4 separate regions of the Homo sapiens genome follow, and regions 2, 3 and 4 are each linked to region 1. The links are contacts of gene promoters, found by promoter capture Hi-C in blood cells and fetal thymus (Javierre and others, 2016). All regions are on one chromosome and are shown on one strand. The core of a region is centred on a gene start or on the middle of the fragment in contact, and the rest is flanking DNA. Distances in the headings are between cores, read along the strand shown.

Region 1 (4,076 bases), core at 1,573-4,072:
TTACAGACAGGATGCCCAAAATTTCTGCTACTGGTGTGAGCCCAGAAAATCCTAACCCAACTACCTTGTAACAGAAAAGCTAACTTACCATGGTCAGCACGCACAGTGAAGGAACCTCCAGCAGAAGACTCCCAAGCATACTGTTCATCATCGTTGTGCTTTGTGATCACAACCACTTTCTCTGCCACCAAGTAGGCAGAATAAAAGCCAACACCAAACTGCCCAATCATGGAGATGTCTGCACCAGCCTGCCAACAAGTTTAAAGTCAATCACAAGTTTTAAAGAAGCAAAAAACCAAAGAACACAGATAAGTATGAATGCCTACAGAACTGCAATACCTGAAGAGCCTCCATGAATGCTTTAGTACCAGACTTGGCAATGGTTCCCAAATTATTTATGAGATCAGCTTTGGTCATGCCAATGCCTGTGTCTACCAAAGTCAGGGTACGTTCCTGAGGGTTGGGGATGATGTCAATTTTCAGCTCTTTACCACTGTCCAACTTCGAAGGGTCTGTCAGGCTCTCATAGCGAATCTTGTCCAAGGCCTGGAAATACAAACAGCAACTTACTTTTGCTCTTTCCAAGACAGACTCTTGCTCTGTTGCCCAAGCTACAGTGCAGTGGCAAGGATGACAGCTCACTGCAGCCTTGACCTCCCAGGTTCGAGCCATCCTCCCAACCCCAGCTTCCCAAGTAGCTGGGACTACAGGCACATGCCACCGTGCCCAACTAATATTTAATTTTTTGCAGAGACAAGGTCTCGCGGTTGCCCAGGCTGCCCTCGAAATCCTAGGCTCAAGTGATCCTCCTGCCTTGGCATTACAGGTGTGAGCCAACACGCTCAGCCACTTTTGCTTTCTTAAAGCCCGTATCTTCAAAGAAAATCTTGGTTTACCTCTCTCAGCCTCAAATCTGATTGCCCCCTATCTTGAGGCTTTAGAACCAGTTAGTTCCATGAGCCCACTTATTCTGGACATAGTCCCTTCCAAGTTCAAGATGGCCAGAGTAAAACCCATCTTTTTGGAATAGCTGCAAGTTTACCCCCTTCAATAGTAGTCCCCAACAAAGGCCAAACCACTCCTTTCCCCTCCTTCTAGAGTATCAAAAAAAAAAACCATGCCAAATGTGGAAACCAGAGCACCTACATCAGAAGCATTAGAGATCAACTCCCGAAGGAAAATCTCCTTGTTGGAATAGAAGGTATTGATGATGAGGGACATGAGTTGGGCAATTTCTGCCTGAAAGGCAAAAGTCTCCACCTCCTCCTCTCCATGGTGCACTTCCTCAGGCATCTAAAATAAAAATCTCATTAATTACAAAAGAACACTAAGGCCCCATGTTTAAAAATCCTAAAGGTCATATCATTTGTTAGGACCTTAGACAGTGAGTTCAGACTGGTTTAACCGGAGTACTATCCCTTCCCAAGACTAAAAATGCATTCTCTTAAAGATCTCAGACTACACACTAAGTGGGAGGCCTGAAAATTCAGAAGGAAAAAGAAAATAAGCTAAATATTCTTCAACCAAATGTCACAGAACCCACCTACTTAAAGAATGGTGACCAGCAGCCTCAGCATCATCTGGTAGTATGGCAGAAAAATCATAATGTTGGTCCAACCCAGGTATCTAGAGATCCCAAGTAATCCTTACACAAATTTAAATGTGAAAATCACTACCTACAGTTCTTTATTTGGGGGAGATCAAAGTGACTAGTTTAAGATAAAAATGGCACTAACTTTAAACTGCTCCCCCTGAGGTGTCAGTTCCTAAGACCAGTCCAAGGGCGGGACACTCCTGCCCCATAGGGCAGGGAGGAATAACCTGGGATCCATACGATACCCACCGGAGGAGCAATTAAATCCGGACAAAGAATTCTTAAGCCAAAAGCTCCACCACGACCCTTTCACAGCACAAAATTACAGAACAGGACCAAACCCAAGAAAGATGGTGGCCGTAGCCACCAGGCCGACACTCGTCACTGCCGGACATGCGTCGGCCAGGACCACGCGAGGAGGGGGCGCCGCAGTGCACCCTCCCTCGCCCCAGCATCCGGGCACTGGGGCGGGGCGCCAGAATCCAGAAGCTTCCAGAACAATCTCAGCTCTCGAGGAAGGGCGGAGGAAGGAGCCCATGAATCTTCCAGAACCTGCTCCCCTCCCCGCCCCTCCTCCACCGGGACTGCAAGAAAGATCTGGAAGGAGGGAGTATCGGGTGCTGGAGACCGAAAGCTCTCTTCCCACACCGTCAACCCTCCCTCACAGAAACAAAGCACCCAAGAAGGCTTTAACAACGCGTCCGATAAGAGAGGTGACAAAGCCAGTCCCACAAGGCCGTGCTGAGTCACCCGAGCGGGCACCCCCGCCACCCTGCGGTCCCCCTCCGACGCCCCGTAGCCGCGTCCGGAAGTGGAGGGGCAAAAATGGCAGCGTCCCGGGCCGCGCGGCCACCACGTGCAGCTGCCAGCCGCCCACTGCCCCAACCCCACAGCCCACCTCGCTACGGCCAGCAGGCGCCGAGAGAAAGCCCCACCCCCCAAACACACTAGAGAAAACCGAGGAGGACTCAAAAAACCTCACCCACCACTACCCTCACCCTATAAAAATCCAGAGCGTTATCCACAAGCCACCCCGACATCTAGACTAAGGCTCCCTAAAGGACAGAAAAAAACAAAAACAACACGAATACAGCACTAAAGGGAAAGAAGCCTAGCGGAGATCTCAGCCTTACCTTGAAAAGAAAAGGATTATACGTAATAGTGAGCAACGTAGGCTTGCTTTCCGATACCCAGACAGTCCCAACACTGCGCCGGAGTGACTCGAGAGAGCTACTGCGTGCCCCAAGTCGCCCTATATAAGGCGAAGCACAGTACAGCCGCCCTCCTGTAGATCCCTCCGCCTTAAAGGAGTATGATTGTCAACCCCGCACCTGCCGCCACCAGCCCACCTTGACGTCATGGTCCGAAAAAAAGAGGGGGCGGGGAAGAACCCAAGCAACGGATCCGCCCACACATTTGCTTGTGATCACAGCCCCATAGTTTCACGTCTAGGACATGACTCCATCAAGAGCGGGGATGAGGAGTGCTCATTTGGCATAAACGGTGTCTCTACGGGCGAGGAACCCACTGACCTCCCTAAACACTTGTGGGGCAGGCGTCCCCACACCCAAGGGCGGGACTGGGGGGGACACCGAAAAAGAGCGGAGGCAGCTAACCACGCGGACCACCGCTCCCAGACCCAATCTTCTTCCTAGCATCTGCCCTACACATCTCGCGTCCCGACAGAGGGACTGGCATTCGGGACCCAACCTTGGGTAGCCCCAGATCCCGACTCTCGCAGGAGTAGAGGAAGGGCGGAGGGTTCGCGCTGAGGGGCAGCTCAGCGTAGGGGGAGGGCGCCGGCCGGGGCTGGCGGGGACTCTTTGCCGACATGCGGCGGAAGGCGCGGCGGCGGCACTGCGGCATTTCCAGCAGTTTCCAGGCCTGTCTCGGCGGTCCCGCCCCCTCCCCGCGAGGCTCCGCCTCTCCGGCTGCGGCCGGGGCAGGGTTTTTGCAGCGACCCCACCCGGCGACCCGCTCTGACCTGTCCGAGAGACGCGGGTACCAGCCCAATCCTCAGGGATGGGATGGAGGGTTGGGGAGGGATCGGCTGACCCCTCCTTCCCCGCGTCAATCACACAACACCCAGGCACCTGGGGCGGCTCTGCGGGCGTACACTTTTGCAGACTGAGAGTGGAGTACCTGCGGGGGGGACCCCCCTCTAGCCCCTGCGGCCGCCACGTACACGGAGCACGGGGACATGCGCCCTCCCTACGCAGGCACGTCAAGCCCTTTCTCAAGCTGGTTCGCTTTTTTTCCGCCCACTTCGCTCCTGCAGCCATTTGGACCTGGGAAGGAGGGAGTCTCTGGGAACCAGTGCAGGGCAGCCGGAGCTCTTGGAGGCCGCGTGACGATGCCGGCCACAGAGCGGCTGGCCAAGTTGTTCCCCTTCAGCCTTGGCACCAGAGCCCCTAGGCCATGCCCCTGGCCAGTGAGCTGCCGTGTCTGGCCTGGCTCAGCCGTTTTGCCTGCCCTCCAGTTG
Region 2 (3,796 bases), core at 585-3,084, 130 kb after region 1:
GCTCAACAGTTTGGTTACTTGTCCAGGGTCATCTCACCAGTAAAAGTAAAGCTAGTCTCATTTGGTAGTCTGTGATTCTCTGTGTGTCAGATGTTAGTAGTTGCATACATTAGCTGCCTTCTTTTGCATTTGATTTTTCTGATCATAATTACATTTTGGCTGATGCTTCATGGGTTGTCTTAAGGAAAACATTTGGGAGTAAGTTTGGGATTTGAGGCTAAATTGTAGTTAATAAGCATTTAAAGGCCAGGTGTGGTGGGTGGCTCACACCCATAATCCCAGCACTTTGCGGGGCTGAGGCGGGAGGATTGCATGAACTCAGGAGTTCAAGGCCAGCCTGGGCAACATAGTGAGACCATCATCTCTACAAAAAAAAAAAAAAAAAAAAAAAAAACACAAAAAATTAGCCAGGCGTCCTGGTGCATGTCTGTGGTCCTGACTACTTGGGAGGCTGAGGTGGGAGGATCACCTGAGCTTGGGGAGTTCGGGACTGCAGTGAGCTGCAGTTGCACCACTACATTCCAGCATGGGTGACAGAGCAAGACTTGTCTCAAGGAAAGAAAAAAAAGTATGGAGTGTCTAGGTATTCCTGGGGAGGAGTGGATTCCCCTGCCCCACCCTAACATTCTTATTAAATAAAATCTTATCTGAGGTGGTTTGAACTTGTGCATAGCAAAGCTGTGTGTAAATACTACAGTGTAGAGGCTTTTCTCGGCAGACCTCTTGAATGGGCACCTCTGCTGCCAAACGTTTGGGTGGAAAAACAGGTGTGTTTTGCAGCTGGCTACAGGCCTTTCTGAAGCATGCTCTGAAGTGATGTTCAGGTGTTTCAGGGCACTGGCAGCCTCCATATTTGTTAGTGCTAGGGAGCAACAGGGTTGAGATTCTGAAAACTGGAGTCACAAGTCTTGGGTTGGTGTTTGCTCTTTTAGCTAACTCTTCAAGTTGGTTTCCCAAAGCCCACTTTCAGCTGTAGTATGGTGTAGGTCAGTTTTCCATGTTACAGTGTTTGGGAGACTGACCCAAATAAAGACTTTGGTCTTTGACTTGGCAAGAGCAGCCTTTGGCTTTGCTTTGCTGGCCTTGAGCTGTACAGGTGTTCTGGCCTTTACATTTGGGGGAAAGGTGATGTAGTGATAGACAACTTGGGTGGCTGCTTAGATAATTTACTTTCTTTTAGGGAGTTAAAGTGCTGGTTTCAGAAGGCATATGAATATCAAAAAGGGCAATAGTGTGCAGTTTTTCCTCTATGGAGGACTCGAGAAGAAGTCCCTGGCTGGGTTTATAACCAAGGGCTCATATTTTCCTCCTGCCTGTGGAAGTGATATAATAAGGAAGGCATTCTCCGTGCTGTTGTATTTTTTTATAGCAGAAGCTGTTGTGGGCCATTCTCCCTCTCCAACCCCAGAGTTAGAATGTGAATCAGCAAAATCGGAGCTACAGCTCTGTCTAATCATCTGTGTATCCTTTAACCACTAAGATTTATATTTTGTGACTAATGATCTTGTGCTGGAAGTGCCATCTCCCACACAAGTCCCCAAAGAAAACTGGCTTTAAGGGCTCTGACTTAGAAACCAATTTTTCCCCCTCTCGTTTTTCCTGCAGGATCTATCTTGGGATCCCATGGCTTTCTTTACTGGGCTCTGGGGCCCCTTCACCTGTGTAAGCAGAGTGCTGAGCCATCACTGTTTCAGGTAACTTTTCCCATTAAGTTCTTAAAACTGTGTCTTTGTGTAAGCTTCCTATCAGGGCTGGGTATTACGGTGACTAGAACAGGAGTAAAAACTCAGGGAGGTGGGCATGGGGTTGGGGAAAGCTAAAGTGATCAGGCTGAGCTGGCCTGGTTGGTCTGGTCACAGGATGGGGGATAGGTAAAGAGGTGATGTTGCTGTTAGAAGTGTGATGGGGAATGGCATATGGCGGAAGCTTTTACTCTTCAGTCCTTGCAAGACTCTTACAGTGAATCTGACATCTCTCAACCCTATCATTCCCCTAGAGCATTAAAATCCTTTTAAAAACGGAATTTTTTTAATTACAAAAATAATACATGCTTATTACCAAGAACTTGAGCATGATAGAAGTGTGACACCCTCCCCTCCTTGTAGATGCTAAGCCAGGAGAGCACAGGAGGCACGCTTGTTGGCAGACATGCCTCCTGGCCCCGTCATGCCCTCATCCCACAGGCATTTCCTGAGCACCGCACCTGGGGTTGGCCATACAGAGATGAAAGAGAGTTGCTTTCTGTCCTGAAAGAATTCTCACTGTCAGCCACAGGAGCAAACTTGAAAATAAGTAACTCTAAGAAAATGTGATAGAATATTATAATAGAGGATTGTACAGTGCTTTGGAAGGCGTCATATAGGAGCTGCTAGTGGAGGAAGAGGAGGAGAAAGAGTGGAGGCAGTCTTCTCAAAAGGGAGATGGGGGCAGATCCTGTCTAGGCCTCCAGGGAGAATTGGGAGGCAGGGTGTGCTTGGGGAAGTGGTTCCTGGTTCTCCTGCCCAGAGTGGTAGGATGTGTAGCCTTAGAAGGTAGGTAAATTGGGACAAGGTTGTTGACAGTGTAGATGGTGGGGAGTAGCATCACTTTTATATTCTAAAGAGAGCTCTTTGTTGGCAAAGTGAAGTGCAATGGGAACCAACTAGGACACTAATGTCACAGTCTTGGTGTAGGAGAGTGAGCTGCTAAATGAAGGAAGTTGTTGGCGGGATTGGAGAGAAAGGACATAGGTGCTTAGGGGGTGATATTAACAGGACTTGGTGGCCAGTTCATGTTGGTGGAGAGAGGTTTATGGCTTGGCTTCTGGTACTGCTGGAGAAGCCATCGTCTAGATAAGTGTAGCAGCAGGCGGAGGTTTGCAAGGGGAGGCAGTGAGATGAGTTTGGGACCTACTGAGTTTGCAGTATCTATAGAGCATGTTGTAGGGAGTTGAGGAGAGTGGAAATATATAGAACTAGAATATAGAAGAGAGGCGGGGCTGGAGATGGAATTTACTAGTTGGCAGCAATGCTAATGGGTAAGATTGCCCAGAGTAGGCATAAAAAACGAGAGAAGAGGTCCTAGGATTACCCTGCGGAAACACCAGCATCAGGTGCTAGCATCAGGAAAATAGGAATCCCACTGTAATCAGCTTGCTTAATAATACCTTGTCTGCCTTCAATAAGTACTCTCTAAAATTTTTTTTTCTAATGAGAAAAAATGTATTAAAACAGAAGATTGTTACCTTGACTTATTACCAGTTTCTGGTATGTTGTGTCAGAGAATTCCCTTAGTAAACTTACCCATATCTTCTAGTTCCCAGCAACATGTAAATAAGAAAATTAGGGGACCGGGCGCGGTGGCTCACGCCTGTAATCTCAGCCCTTTGGGAGGCCGAGGCGGGCGGATCATGAGGTCAGGAGATCGAGACCATCCTGGCTAACACGGTGAAACCCTGTCTCTACTAAAAAATACAAAAAATTAGCTGGGCATGGCAGCAGGCGCATGTATTCCTAGCTACTTGGGAGGCTGAGGCAGGAGAATGGTGTGAACCCGGGAGGTGGAGCTTGCAGTGAGCTGAGATGGCGCCACCGCACTCTAGCCTGGGCGACAGAGCGAGACTCCGTCTCAAAAAAAAAGAAAATTAGGGAATGGTGTATTCTGGGGAAGCAGGTTTTTCAGGATAGGCAGTGGGTGAGGCCTAGCCCATAAGGGATTCCTTTAAGTCCTTAGAGTCCTTTTGGAAAGCAAAGGCTTTAAGTTATGGCTGCTGTGAAGTTCATTGTCACAGAAAAATTGGGTTCTCTTTAAAACCCAT
Region 3 (4,102 bases), core at 1,550-4,049, 170 kb after region 1:
CTGAGGGAGGAGAATGGCGTGAACCCGGGAGGCGGAGCTTGCAGTGAGCTGAGATTGCGCTACTGCACTCCAGCCTGGGCAACAGAGCGAGACTCCGTCTCAAAAAAAAAAAAAAGTTTATCTGGAGAGCCCTTAGGACAGAGGGGAGCCCTGGGGAGCTGACCTCTAGAGGGCTGGGAAGTCTGAAGATGGGGAACTCCTAGAGGACCCATTCTCAACCCTGGCTGCCTATAGAATCACCTAGAAATATTTTCTTAAAATTACCTTTGTCTTAGCCAACCCCTACCAATTTTGATTTCCTTAGTCAGGGCTGGGCAAACATGGGTATTTGAAAAATCCTCCCAGTGATTCCCATGTACAGCCAATCTGAGAATCCTGCTCTGTCCTCCGCCCCATGATGCCATCGAGGAGGCTGAGGCTCAGTGAGCAGAGGCCCTTGATGGAGGCCACCCCACTAGTTGGGGCAAGGTCGGGTCAGAATCTGAGGCTTCTAACCCCATGGCAGGCTCCTTCCTATAGGCCTCTTCTGTCCCCCAGGGGCTGGTCTGGTGTCCCACTGAGTGTCACCTGTATTCATTTCACCATTTGGGCACTGAGGAGCTGTGTGACCCTTGGCAAGTTGCTTAACCTTGGTTTCTTCTTTGTGATAATGGGCTCCAGTGATAAGAATTGGACAAAATGATGCCTGCAAAGTGTTCAGTGGCACTTGAGGGAAGAGTAGCCACTGTCCTGCTTTTTGCCTGGGGCAGGCCTGGTGCTGCAGGATCTGGGCAGAGGCCTCCTTGATCGTCCCCACCCATCAGGCAAGTGAAGCCCTTAGAGGTGGAACTTCGGAGGGTGGAGTCCCCGGGGAGTGGCCACCCCTGAGGCTCCCCAGGGCCCTGACAGGGAGTTGGGAGGTGTAGGGAAAGTGTGAAGAATGGCTTCCTTGCACACTCGACTTCATGCACTTCCAGGTGGCGGTGACAATGGTCAGGATTCTGCAGTTATATGAATGGCCACCAGGAGTCACCCTCAGCTCATGCTTGAAGTGAAGGCAGCACAGAAAAAGGGAAAGGAGCTGTAAGGGAGAAAAGGAGGAGGACACCCCACCACAGAGTGGATGAGCCTGGAGGGGACCCAAGGCTGCCAGAGTGGCTGCTTCATTTCTGCAGGAAGGTGCAGGACAGAACTCAGACTGGTGGGCACCGTGCCAGCAGGCAGAGGAGGGAGCAAAGGCTCATTTGTCTGCCTTCGGAATTCTCCTTCCCATGCTGATGTCAAATCACAATTCAACAGATTCTTCATGGGGCACCTGCTGCACACAGAGGGACAGGAATCTTACTGAACACCTAGTATATGCCAGAGCCTACACACACAGTGGGCTACTCAACATTCACAACAACTCTGTACAGTAAGTACAAATATTGGTCCCAAGATACAGATTGGGAAACTGAGGCTTATACCAGTTATGTGTTGTGCCCAAGGTCACCAAGCTGGATGAGGACTGACGCCTGTCTGGAGCCTAAATTCTTTCTCCTACACCAGATTGACTTCCAGAGAGTTCTAGGATACAAAGCTGGCAACAGACTTTCTGCCACGTAGAGGGATATGGCAGGTGACAACCCTGTCTGGCTCTGCTAATCAGGATCCAGTAAGAAGCTCAAGACAGGTGGCCACTCTGCTGGTAGGCAGAGGAGGGAGCTGTGCTCCCTGGGGTGGGTAGAAGTAAGGTTTGTGTGGGTGCTGGGTGTTGGACACGGGCAGGCTGCAGACATAGCAGCAATGAGGGGAGACTCTCTCAACCTGCCCATGTCCTCCTCTGAGCAATCTCCCCGCCCCAGAATTATTTCAGTTTCCTCATCTGTCAGTTCTAGGGGTGGACTTCATTCATTCAATACTGTGTCCCTGACCTCTGCTCCCTGCCAGGCTCTGAACTAGTCATGTGTCAGGCTGGATACTTAGATGGACAAGACAAGCCATCCCCTGCCCACAGCTGCCCCACCTGAAGTCTAGGCCAGTGACCTCCGAAGTTTTTTTGATCATGTGCCCTTAGCAATAAAAAAGATTGTTGAGTACGCACCCGTCAGATGAGTATGTTTTTATATAGTTTACCTTGTAAAACACACTCACACTAAATGAAAAAAGGATTCGATGAAAAATAAATAGGCATTCTAAAACTTTCTTCCAGTACCCCTGAACCACGCACACATATGGCACTTGGAACCCAACTGCTCCAGGAGCTGGGAGGGTAGGGTCAGTCCAGCCATACTCAGGACGGATGTGTGGTCAGTGTTCCAGAACATCCTTGCCCACCCCTTTATGCCCTAGCAAAGGAAGGGAGAAACTTCAGATACAGCAGGTGGGAGTGTGGGCAGATGGGAAGCGTAAGCAGGTTTATGTCTGAGGAGGCAGACAAGAGGCAGGTTTTTATTTTAGACTGTGATGTTGAAAATTTTGTGATCACTTTTTACACTGTCCCAGGACATACAGAACCAAGACATAGTGTCCCAAGTAGTATCTAATTTCATATACTTTAGGTAGTTCTATTCCATTTCCAAAGGTTTAGAATACCGCCCCACCTCAACCCCCAGGAAACTGGGGAGCACTCCCTCCACTACACACACTTGGGACACGAAGGACAGACCCTGGTTGGGGAGGCACTTAGGTGTCCCTTCCTTAGGGGCTTTATCTCTCACTTCCCCTCCTGGGTTGGAGGCTCCTGTGACCCCCTCGCCTGGGCAGGTCCCCATGCAGGGTAGAGCACTTGGAGGCCTCTGTAAACATGGGTTACAGGAGAGAGGGGGCAAGAGGCCACAGCTGGGGTACATAAGGAAACCCCTCTGTGGGCCCCCTTACTCAGAGAAGTCTCAGGAGAAACCCTTTCCCCCACCCCCAGTCCTGGCACCAAGCTGGAGAAAGACAAAATGGCTTGTGAAGGCATCTGTCTGCCCTCCAGGGTGGCTGCCAGGGGGGCAGCCATGATGGCTGGCCTGGTGTGGGTGCCTTTGTGTGCCATGACTGGGTGTCTGTTTCTGCAGTCACTAGGCGCTTGTTCTGTGGGGTGAGGGGTGTGGGGGTGGGGGCACGGCCTATGGCAGGGCACGTACGTGAGGCTGGGCACGAAAAGCCTCACCCACCTCCTGCCAGGTACAACCAGCTGCTGGGGCCAACTGCCGACCGCCTCCTCCCTTCCCTGGGCACGGCCAGGCCGGGGGGCAAATGACTTGGCAGGCACCTCCCCTCAGTTGGACCCACTAGGGCAGGGCCGGCTCACCTGGGGCACAGGCAGGGCTCCTGGCTGGGTGGGTGTTCTGCCAATCCCTTCCCCAACTCCTAAAGTGGGAGGGTGGTGGTGAGGCCAGGGAAGGGGCGCAGGTCAGAGATATGCCCCCTCTCCTCTCCCAGACTGTGCATGGGTAAAGCAGGGCAGAGAGGGGCTGGTGGAGGGGCGGGAAGTTTCTCTGTTTAGGGCCAGGAAATGATTTCCATGCAAATGAGATGCAAACTCCTTAATGAGTTTGCAATTAGGAGACCAAGGCTGCCAGGCCGGGCAGCGCCTGCAGGTTTTATGAATGGGCCAGCGTAGGCGGGGGGGAGGGGGCGCGCCGGCCCGCCCCCACATTTCCCTGCCGCGGCGCCCGCGACATGCCGCGCCGCACGTTGCTGCCTCCAGGCCCCGCCGCGACCTGGCCCACCGCCAGCGGGTCAGCTGCTCCGGACGGCGCGGGAGGCTGCCGGCCAGAGTCCCCGCCACGCCGCCGGCCGGCGACGCAAAGGAGCCGACGACACTCCCCCTGGGGCCCGGCAGGGGCTCTGTCCTCGGGCCCCCTTTTTTCCCGGTTATTGGAATGATTTCCCGAAGCAGGAAGGCCAGAAGTTAGCCTTCAGGCCCCGTTGTATTTAAAATGGGCTGCCCTGGGACTTCACTGACCAAAGGAGGGGGCTGGGCCCCTAACTTGGGTGACAGCAATGACCTTGGGAGGGATGGAATTATACGTGACAGGAGAGGGACCAGTTCCCATCCCAGAGCTCCTTGCACCTCTCCAATTCCCTCATGCCAGTCCACACCTCCCTAACCTCAAAAGGCCTGTTCCCACCACCCCAGGGCACCTGCTTTTTC
Region 4 (3,864 bases), core at 1,155-3,654, 150 kb after region 1:
TTGAAGAGTGATATACCTCACACATTATTGTGGGTTTTTTGTTTTTTTTTTTTTTTAAGACAGGGTCTCACTCTGTCACCCAGGCTGGAGTGCAGTGGTGCAATCTCAGCTCACTTCTGCCTCCATACGCCGGGTTCAAGGTGTCTCAACCTCCTGCATAGCTGGGATCACAGGCCACCATGCCCAGATAATTTTTGTGTTTTTAGTAGAGACGCGTTTTCGCCATGTTGACCAGGCCGGTCCCGAACTCCTGGTCTCAAGTGATTCACCCGCCTCGTTCTCCCAAAGTGCCGGGATTACAAGCATGAACCACTGTGCCCGGCCCCACACACATTATTTATGTAAAATCACTTAACAACGTTATTTCCTACAAATACAGAAAAATTTATGGGACTGGGTGCAGTGGCTCACACCTATAATCCCAGCACTTTGGGAGGCTGAGGTGGGTGGTCACTCGAGACCAGGAGTTCGAGACCAGCCTGGCCAACATGGTGAAACCCCGTCTCTACTAAAAATACAAAAATTAGCTGGGCCTGGTGGTGTGCACCTGTAATCCCAGCCACTTGGGAGGCTGAGCATGAAGATCACCTGAACCTGGGAGGCAGAGGTTGTGGTGAGCTGTGATATCACACCACTACATTCCCTGCACTCCAGCCTGGGCACCAGAGCAAGATACCCTGTCTCAAAAAAAAAAAAAAAAAAAGGCAAAAAAGCACAAGAATGATACCCAAGACAGTGCTAATAGTGGGAGTTCCTTTGGGGAGGAGGGAGGTAGAAGGTTCCTGGTCAAAGGTGACACAGCTCTGTAGTGCTTTAATTTTTTAATAAAGAGACTATATCCCTCTATTATTTGTGTACTTAAAATCACAAATAATTTTAAAATGCAATGCACATACCATGTGTATGGGGGAATGAGGGCAAGAGGAAGGGATTCTGAAGGAGGTGGTGTGGGGTAGAGCTTTTATATCAGACAAGCCTGTATTCCAGTCCTGACCTTGACAATTACCTGCCAGTGACTTCAGGCAAGTCACCTTACTCTCTGAGTCTCAGCCTCCTCATTTGAGAAGTCAGGATGACAATGTCTGCCTTCCAGGGCTCTTGTGTGGATATGGAGTAGGCCGTAGAATTCTTGGCACATAGTAGGTGCTCAGCGTATCAATCATAGCCATTATTGTTATTTCAAATTTCAGCCAAAAATAATCACTTGAGCTCTTAGTAGGTGACAGTTGGATTAAGGACATTGGGACTGTATCTGGTTCAATCAGGGATGACTTCCTGGGGGAGGAGGGGCTTGAGCTACTTAAATATATGTGGGAAGTGGGGCAGCATTGAGTTAGAGAGAGGGCTGTGTGCAGAGGCCAGGGAGGGATTATGCCTGTGTGCCTATTATTAGTAATGATATTACTTATTTCCATATTATAGACAAAGAGGGAGAGTCCAAGTAACTTGTCCACAGACACATAGCTAGTAAGTGTAGGGTGTTCACATGGAAGGGATGGGCAGAGGAAGAGAAATGGGAAAATGCAGGAAACTGGGATAGTTCTGTGGGAGGAGAAGGGAGAAAAAGAATGGGCTTTGTAATCAGAAAGGCTCCTGAAGAGAGGGATGTGGGGGATTTAACAGGCCAGCCATTGCCCTTTACTTAAAAAAAAAAATGCCCAGGGGAGATGTAGGACCTTAAGGTCTTACCTTTGCAAGACGCTCTTGACAGAGGCCACTGGCTCTCCATCTCCCTTGGGCCCAAGCAGAAAGGATTGGGGCCCCTCCCCACAGGAAGGGGTGCTAGGCTGACTAGTCCTAGGAGGCTGGGCGTCTTTTCCCCAGGAACCCTCCAAGAACTGGGTGGGTTGAGAGCTGGCTGGCAGTACTGTGCCAAATGAAGTCGCTGCATGCCCTGTAACCTGGCAATTCCGCTTCTTAGGTTTTCAGGCCGAGCCGTAACGGTTCCTGTCAAGGACGGTCATGGCAGGGTTGCTGGGGTGTTGGAGGGAACTTGGGTGCCTGTCGCCCTCAGAGTGGGTAAATAAATGTGGAAGGTGCCCACCAGAAACTAAATGTGCTCACAGCAACATGAATGAGGTTTAAAAATACAGTGCTGAGCGAAAACAATTAAGAAATATATCTATAATGTGTGTGTGTGTTTTTTATATATATATATATATATATATATATATATATTACTAATTGTGAAACTAAAAAATACATGCACTTGTTTTGCAAGGACACATACAAATGGTTGGCTATGGGTTAGGATGAGGAATGAGAATAAAAATGAGATAAATGCAGAGTGTGGTGAAATCCAGTTCCTCTGCAGGTGGAAAGGGTGGCCAAGCGGTCAACCCACATTTCTGTGCACATTGTGCCATCTAGTGGGCAAAGGGGCGTTCAGCTGCCCTGGTCCTGGAGCTGGTGCAACTATGGCACCATGACATCCTGGGCAGGTGCTGCCTCAGCTGGGCCCCCAGAGCAGAGGTGAGAGGTGAGTGCTGCCTGTCAAGTGGGGGCCAGGCACAGCCTGCTGTAGGCCTGGCCAGTGGGGCTGGTAGCCATTTCTGTTGCAGCAGGGAGGAGGGTTCAGACAGGCCTGCCTGCCTCCAGGAGCTGTCTGATGTCAGGGCTGGCTCTTCACCGCCTGCTATGGCAGGCAGGCAGGTGGTTCCTGAGAAGGGAGTGGCTGAGACTCTGATGCCAGATTTTCACATGTAGCCCTCCCTTCTGGCAGGAAAGAGAGCATCTGGCAGGATCATTGTGAAAGCAAAGAGGAGAGAGGAGAGCAGGTAGAGACACTCAGAGTCTAGAGAGAGCAATGACTACCTTGAGGTGGAGTACGGAGGACAGACCCTGGCACCAGACTGCCAGGGTTCACATCCCTTGGGCAAGTCCCCTGTGCATCAGTTTCCCCTCCTTGGAATGTAATAGTACGTACCTTGTAGGGTTGAAGTGAGTCAAAATAAGGCACTTAAAACAGGTCCCCTTTCCGGGTCAGGGCTGTGTAAGTGTTGTCCACTCTCAGTATCTGAGGTTCACCCAACTCCTGTAAAGCCAGCACCCTGCTCTCATCCTTCATGAGAGTCATGGGGCATGAACAGAATGCCCTGGGCTGATGGGGGTCACTGCAGCAGGGCCTGGGGCTATAGGCTAGGAAGGGACTCCAGCCATGGACCCAGGCCAAACTGTGGAGGGAGGTGGGGTGAAGCAGGGCGGGGCCTGGGGCTGGGGACACTGCATTCTTTTTTTGTTTTTTGAGACGGAGTTTCGCTCTCGTCACCCAGATTGGAGTGCAATGGCGCCATCTCGGGTTCAAGCGATTCTCCTGCCTCAGCCTCCCAAGTAGCTGGGATTACGGGCTCCTCCCACCACGCCCAGCTAATTTTTTGTATTTTTAGTAGAGACAGGGTTTCACCATGCTGGCCAGGCTGGTCTCGAACTCCTGACCTCAGGTGATCCGCCAACCTTGGCCTCCCAAAGTACTGGGATTTTACAGGCATGAGCCACCACGCCCAGCTGGACACCCCATTCTTGGGGTCTGTAAAAATACTTTCTTGGCCGGGTGTGGTAGCTCATTCCTGTAATCCTAGCACTTTGGGAGGCTAAGGAGGGTGGGTCACCTGAGATCAGGAGTTCGAGACCAGCTGGCCAACATGGTGAAAACCTGTCTCTACTAAAAATACAAAAATTAGCTGGGTGTGGTGGCACACGCCTGTAGTTTCAGCTACTCAGGAGGCTGAGGCAGGAAAATCGCTTGAACTCGGGAGGCAGAGGTTGCAGTGAGCCAAGATCGCACCATTGCACTCCAGCCTGGGCAACAAGAGTGAAACTCCTTCTCAGTCTTGGTTACCTCTGGGGCTTGACGGGCCCTGTCCT

The links. The method cuts DNA at HindIII sites, captures the fragments that hold promoters and counts their contacts. A CHiCAGO score of 5 or more calls a contact.
Region 2: a contact is called between a fragment that was not itself captured here and the fragment with the promoter of HSP90AB1 in region 1, in 4 of 17 cell types (erythroblasts, fetal thymus, megakaryocytes and 1 more). The highest score is 7.0, in erythroblasts.
Region 3: a fragment that was not itself captured here is called in contact with the fragment with the promoter of HSP90AB1 in region 1 in 1 of 17 cell types (fetal thymus); the score reaches 6.1 in fetal thymus.
Region 4: a contact is called between a fragment that was not itself captured here and the fragment with the promoter of HSP90AB1 in region 1, in 15 of 17 cell types (megakaryocytes, erythroblasts, M2 macrophages and 12 more). The highest score is 17.3, in megakaryocytes.

Annotation. Positions count from the first base shown.
Region 1 is chr6:44,245,847-44,249,922 of GRCh38, reverse strand. It overlaps HSP90AB1 (heat shock protein 90 alpha family class B member 1), which reads right to left and starts at 2,822. Exons shown (of 12, transcript NM_007355.4): 1 at 2,728-2,822; 2 at 1,147-1,293; 3 at 340-546; 4 at 89-248. The coding sequence starts at 1,293. RefSeq lists enhancers at 1,723-1,772, 2,257-3,011, 3,766-4,076 and a silencer at 3,323-3,562. The HindIII fragment of the contact is 5,727 bases long and covers 2,086-4,076 here.
Region 2 is chr6:44,114,439-44,118,234 of GRCh38, reverse strand. It overlaps MRPL14 (mitochondrial ribosomal protein L14), which reads left to right. Exons shown (of 3, transcript NM_032111.4): 2 at 1,606-1,694. The coding sequence starts at 1,624. Among named protein-coding and RNA genes, the nearest start is that of MRPL14, 11 kb to the left of the region's middle. RefSeq lists an enhancer at 860-1,029. The HindIII fragment of the contact is 188 bases long and covers 1,741-1,928 here.
Region 3 is chr6:44,076,239-44,080,340 of GRCh38, reverse strand. No RefSeq gene overlaps it. Among named protein-coding and RNA genes, the nearest start is that of SCIRT, 3.6 kb to the right of the region's middle. The HindIII fragment of the contact is 7,345 bases long and covers 1-4,102 here.
Region 4 is chr6:44,095,399-44,099,262 of GRCh38, reverse strand. No RefSeq gene overlaps it. Among named protein-coding and RNA genes, the nearest start is that of SCIRT, 23 kb to the right of the region's middle. RefSeq lists an enhancer at 57-226 and silencers at 2,270-2,439, 2,217-2,511. The HindIII fragment of the contact is 6,139 bases long and covers 1-3,864 here.